2 separate regions of the Homo sapiens genome follow, and region 2 is linked to region 1. Evidence: promoter capture Hi-C in human tissues and cell types (Jung and others, 2019). All regions are on one chromosome and are shown on one strand. Each heading gives the region's core, a stretch centred on a gene start or on the middle of the fragment in contact. The rest is flanking DNA. Distances are from core to core; before and after follow the strand shown. Region 1 holds the start of NFIL3 (nuclear factor, interleukin 3 regulated). Region 2 overlaps SYK (spleen associated tyrosine kinase).

Evidence for each region. The method cuts DNA at HindIII sites, captures the fragments that hold promoters and counts their contacts. A contact is called where the count stands out against the background at its distance.
Region 2: a fragment that was not itself captured here is called in contact with the fragment with the promoter of NFIL3 in region 1 in 1 of the 25 tissues and cell types used here (lymphoblastoid cells).

What each region holds. Positions count from the first base shown.
Region 1 is chr9:91,422,476-91,425,413 of GRCh38, reverse strand. NFIL3 (nuclear factor, interleukin 3 regulated) reads left to right here and starts at 1,582. Exons shown (of 2, transcript NM_005384.3): 1 at 1,582-1,774. LOC105376146 (synapsin-1) reads right to left here and starts at 1,381. Exons shown (of 2, transcript NR_188612.1): 1 at 1-1,381. RefSeq lists a silencer at 1,245-1,644. The HindIII fragment of the contact is 26,857 bases long and covers 1-2,938 here.
Region 2 is chr9:90,881,328-90,884,382 of GRCh38, reverse strand. All of the region lies in intron 11 of SYK (spleen associated tyrosine kinase), which reads right to left. Among named protein-coding and RNA genes, the nearest start is that of SYK, 81 kb to the right of the region's middle. The HindIII fragment of the contact is 5,960 bases long and covers 1-3,055 here.

The DNA of each region.
Region 1 (2,938 bases), core at 333-2,832:
CCCTGGAAGGCTTTCCAAAAACTCAACTGATAGGTGATAAAAATTTTTTAAATATGACTTGCGTTATTATGATATTAACTGTGCAAGAAGGGGAAAGGTAGAAAAGACAATCTTGGCGAGTAGATAGATCTGCTGCTCATGGCAGACACTAGGGATGGTACCTGGGTGTTCACTCTGCTCTTCTCTTTACTTTGGTTTTTGCTTTTTAAAAACGAAAGGAGCAAAAAGAAGTGGAAAGTCGTGGAGGCACTCGGCCCAGCCCCCACGTAGTTCAAGGAGACCAGGAGGGAGCTGGCTGGTGGAGGTCCTGCCCACCTGCCACACTCCGTATTTGGGCAAGCCTGTGAGTCACTGTCGGGAACATGGCTCCCTTCGCCAAGGCCAGCACTGACCACTATCCGTGTATCGGTAAACGCAGGGAGTGTGCCACGTGCCTTGACAGTCTAGCGCGACGACTTAAGAAGTCGCGGCTAGGTGCTCTTTTTTCCATTTTTTTACGTCTCTTCCGTAGCCCGGGAATTTGGGAGAGAAGACTACCGTATCCAGTTAGACGCAGAAATAACACTAAGCAGCTATCAGCTCAAAATCACAGGAAGAGATCCCGCGCGGTCGTCTCAAGCCCCAGCACCAAACGACAGTGGGCGTCCCAGCGGGGGCACCCGAGCGCGGACCTTCACATCCTCCGAGGAACGCCGCACCCGCGTGGCGGGGGTGGGTAGATGGACCTCAGCGAGCCTCGTTTCCCAGTCGTGTTACGCAACAACTTTGCAGCCGTCATCTTCGCCCTAATTGTGCAGGGGGCGGTGTTTGTGCGTGGAGCTTTCCCTCCCGGCTCCGGGCCGTCGCGGCTCTCGGGAGAGGCGCCGGGACATTTTAATCGCTGCCTCCGCCGCGCAGCCCTGCGCAGCTGCCCGGCCGCGCCAACCCCTTCCCCGCCGCAGCGCGCCCCGAGTGTTGGCAGCTTGCCAGCCGCCACCCCCCGCCTTCCCTCCTGCCCACCCCAAGGTAGAGGGCTCCTCTCGGGAGTGTGCGGGGAAGGGGAGGCCGAGGTCCGGGCCACGCCCGGGTAGCCGCAACCCGCAGTGCTCAGTCGGCAACAGGTAGCCCAGCAGGCTGCGGCTCTCAGGAAGACAAAAAGCGCCTCTGCGAGCAAGTGAGGGTCGCGGGGAGCGCAGAGCCACCGCGGCGACCGGGAGGGTGAAGGGAGCCAAGAGCGGACGGGGCGGTGGGACGGGGGGCTCCCGGGCTCCTCCGCAGGCTCGCTCCGGTCGTGTCGGCCGCGTGGGCCGTTGCGCAACACTCGTTGCGCCGGGAATGGGGCGCCAGCCCTCGCGGGCGCTCGGACGGCGGTGGCCCTGGCCGGGGAGGGACGCGAGCTGGTAGTGGCGCCGCCGCGGAGGGGGAGCTGAGGGCGGGGAGGCGGGGCGGGGCCGCGGAGTGCCCGCCCCGGCCCGCCCCTGCCGGCCGCGGCCATTGGCGGCGGGCCGGGGGCGGGTGCGGGCGCGGCGATTGGGGCCGCGGCCGCCAGTCACGCGGGGCTGGCGGGCGGCGACGTAGCGCGGCGCTCGGAACTGACCTACTAACACACATCTCTCCGCGCGGCCACGGCGCCCGCGGACCCGGCGCGCCCGCCCGCCTCCCGCGCCGCGCCCTCGCCGCCGCCCGCCTCCCGCCGCGGCCCCGGAGGCCCGGCCCGGCCCGAGCCCCGAGCGCCGGCGGCCCGACTCCCGGCCGCCCCTTTCTTTCTCCTCGCCGGCCCGAGAGCAGGAACACGGTAAGCGCTCCGCCCACCGCCGGCCGGGGGCCCGGCGACCGCTCCCAGGGCGCGCTGCGGGCGGGCGGGCGGGCGCGGGGTGCGGGCCGCGCTGTGTGCGGGGTCGGGCTGTAAGCTGGGCTCGCCAGCGGCGGCGAGTGCGCGCGGGGCATTCATTACATAAACTTTTGCTGCCTTGTCAGGATGGGACTCGCCACCTTAAGGTGGCTGCTTTGATTGCAGCGCCTTCGCGCCGGCACGTAGTCCTGGCTGGTTTGCGCTCTCCCCCCGCTGCTGTTGCATAATGTCTCCTGATTTCAGGAAAATTGATGTTTTGGTAAAGAAGAGCGCCAGGCAGGCTGAGCCCTCTCCGAGCGGGAAGATGCTCTTTCCTCTCTAGTGTCTTTCTTTCTCGTTCCTTCTCTGGGGCTGGCGGCGTAGGGGGGAGAGGAATGGGGGGTTGAGGAATGGGGAATAGTCTTAATTTGCTTGGTGAGAAAAAGGGTTGGTAGCGTGAACGGTGACGGCATTCGGAGAATGCCTGCGCGGCGTTTGTTTGTGTCAGGGGCTGTGTCTGCACAGACGTTTTCCACCCTGTTTGTCGTCAGCGTGTTTTACAAGCCCTCGGGAAGGTTGTGGGATTTGTCCTTTCATACATTGCATAATCTGCCCACGGTGAAATGTTGGCAAGAATTGCGGGCTGATGTGGGAATATGCGCGTATGTGTGCAATGATTTGGTAATTGAGGCGCAGCGTTGGATATTAGATCGTTATTTACGTCTATATTACGTCCCAAATAAACAGGTTTTAAAACGATACTACAAAACCTAAAAGCAAGAATTGCTCGCATTGAATTCTGATCTTGGGTACTACTGGGGTTCGCCCTTTCAATGTTCTCAGCTGTTATTTTTAAATCTGGGACGAACCATTGTGACGTTTACCTCCCCACCTTCCTAATTTTAATGCATTCCATTCGATCAGCCCTTTTTCTCACCTTATTGTCATTGCTTTTTCAGACACGACAAGACAAATCACATAATAGTTTCCTGGAAATGTTGCATTATGTAACTGCCGAATTTGCTGGCAGTGAGCATAGAGAGAGGGAGCTAATTACGTGATTTTATAATCTTGCTACAAAGAAAGTAGGACAGTCTCAGCCTTTAAGAATGTCACTATAACAGTTTT
Region 2 (3,055 bases), core at 442-2,941, 540 kb after region 1:
ACACGTATGTGTGTATGTATGTATACACGTATGTGTATGTGTGTATATATACACGTATGTGTATGTGTATATGTGTGTATATATACACGTATGTGTATATGTGTGTATATATACACGTATGTGTATGTGTATGTGTATATATACACGTATGTGTATGTGTATATGCGTGTATATATACACGTATGTGTATGTGTGTATATATACACGTATGTGTATGTGTGTATATATACACACACACATATATATATGTAGGGCACTTTGGGTTTGATTTGGGGTGAATGCAGTATTTAATCTATGTATAATTTCTATGGCCATAAACAGCCTCAGTGACACCTGTGATTTTCTCAGTGCCTTAGGGTATGGTTATTAGTGGAGGCTGTTGTGAAGGTGTACTGTGAATAGGATGCTAGGTGGGCCAGTCTTCAGACCCCAGTGGTGACAGCAGTGAGCTGAGTATGCCTGTCCTTGGGCCCTAGGGCGGTATACACTAGCACTGGTGTTAGTAGGTCTAAGAAGGCTGACCCTTGGGCTTTCAGGTAGATTGTGTGGATGCTGCAGTGGCTGGGCATGTGGGCAGGTTCTTGGGTTCCTGGGGAGTGGGTGTGATGTGGGTGATGGCAGTAATGGTGGTAGGGCAACTCACTGGAACCCAAGTGGTCCATGTTGGTGTTGGCGGTGGCTGCAACAGGATGTCATGCTCAAGTATTGGGGCATGTGACTAGGCCAATGGACTTGTGCTCAGGCTCCCTGGTGGTGCATTCAGCTGCTGGCTGTGATACGCAGGGAGGGGTGGTCTCTAGGTTGCCAGCAGTGGCTGCCCTGAAGGCCTACCACCAGAAAGGGTAGGGCCACTCTCAATAGGTGCAGAGTAGGCAGGTAGCTGTGGGATATGCAGTCTTCTTGAGCCTTGGTCCCACAGCAGCCCTCAGCAGTGGTGGTGGTATTTGTTTTTGTGGCATGTGAAAGTGCCTGGCCTCCCTTCTCCCTATGTGGCGGGGCAGTGGCAGCATCAGCCCTGGCCCAAGGAAGGACACAGACCTTTGGAGGCTTGGCTCTCAGAATGGCGCTGGCTATGGGCCTGCTCCTGGGGAGGCTGCGGACATTCTCAGGGGGAGCAGTGTAGGCAGGCAGCTATAGGGGGTGTGATTTGCTTGTGTCTCAGCCCCACAGCAGCCTGTAGCAGCAGGGGGATCTGTCCCTGGGGTGTGTGAAGGTGTCCATTCTCCCCTCTGTCCTTGGCCTGGTGATGGCAGCATCAGCAATAGTCCCAGGGCAAGATGCAGTCCTTTGGGGACTTGGTTCTCAGTATGGCACCAAGCTGCAGCTACTCAGAGCTTGGAAGCCTGTGGGACTCAGCGTGAGTTCCCTCTATGGAGCAATGCCTCTGTGTGATCCCTAGGCAGCTCCCTATGTTAGTCTTAAGGCCCACGTGGGTCGAGGGGTTCTTCTGTCGCTAGGATTGTAGAAGTCCTTGGCTGGAATGTGGAGCCCTGGGGATCTCTCATTTATGCTTTCCCCATATCTGGAAGCTTCTCCCAGCTCCCAGTCATTCCTGGCCAAGCAGGCTGCCTTGTTTCCCTGTGCTTTGCTTTTGGTGCTTCCTGTCGCTCCTTGGTTGCATCTGTGTTCTCTCTTAGACCATCTATTGGAAGTGTGAATATGTACTTGTTATTTTGGTCCGTCTCTACGGAGGAGCATATACTAGTTGCATTTAGTCGTCCATCTTGATCAGTTCTCCACCCAGGTCAATTATTTTAGCATGCACTACTTGCTAGCATCATTAAAAAATGATCTAAGCATTCTAATTTCCTAATTTTAAAAAGCAAGTGATAGTACAGAGGTCAAAACTGCATAGCAAAACCCTCTCTCTGGGTTTGGGATTCAGGGGGCACACAGCGGAGTCTGGTTATCTTCTGCTGATGTCACCTGTGTGAGGTCTCATTGGGGTGGAGAGGGGGACATGATTTCAGTGAAAACTGATTTCATGACACTACAGTGGATCACAAGGAGACATTCAGGACATCAATCTGGAGACCATAAGGTGCCCTGGCACTTCTCTTCCAAATGATACAACTGATTATACTTCTGTTTCCATCACCTTGTGTGCTATTTTAAAATTTTGATCTTACAAGTCATGAACAATACAACCATGTGTGTTATTTCAGGTTTCTTCTGAATTTTGAACTGATGAAAAAAGTAAACCTTTGACAAATCTTAAATGCAATGAAATTTAGGCTGTCTTCAGAATAACCTAGATACATGCATAAATAGGTAGTGTATACTTTTTTCTGGTCATAAAACTAGGGGCATATTCTTTGAGCACTGTACTTTTTAATTTTTCTACCTAACCATGTATAGTAGACATATTTCTAGGTCAGCACATGCAAATAAGTCACTTTTAAAAGGGTTGCATTGTGAGCTTCCTGTGAATCTGCTATGACTGATTGGACCAAACCCTGCGGAGCAGTCGTCAGGCAGTTTCCAGATTTTTGCCGTGGCAGCCCGTGCTAGAGTGCACATTACCAGATGTGTGTGTTTGCTCTCGGAAGGAGCTGCTGGATCAAAGAACACCTGTGTTTTTCAGTTGTGATGCTGCACAAATCTACCCTGTCACGCATGGTTTCCCGAGTGCCAGCGTTCGTTTGCTTCCACAGCTAGCACTTTTCTTTGATCTTGTTTCACTTTTTATTCCTTTTTTTTTTTGAGACAGAGTCTTGCTCTGTTGGCCAGGCTAGAGTGCAGTGGCACGATCTCAGCTCACTGCAACCTCCACCTCCCGGGCTCAAGCAATTCTCCTGCCTCAGCCACCAGAGTAGCTGGGATTACAGGTGCCTGCCACCATGCCTGGCTAATTTTTGTGTTTTTAGTAGAGACGGGATTTCACCATGTTGGCCAGGCTGGTCTCGAACTCCTGACCTCAGGTAATCCACCCACCTCAGCCTCCCAAAGTGCTGGGATTACAGGCGTGAGCCACCACGCCCGGCCCACTTTTTATTCTTTTCCATTTCACTTTGCTTTGTTTTCATACAGAAATCTTCCACTACCCTATCTTTTC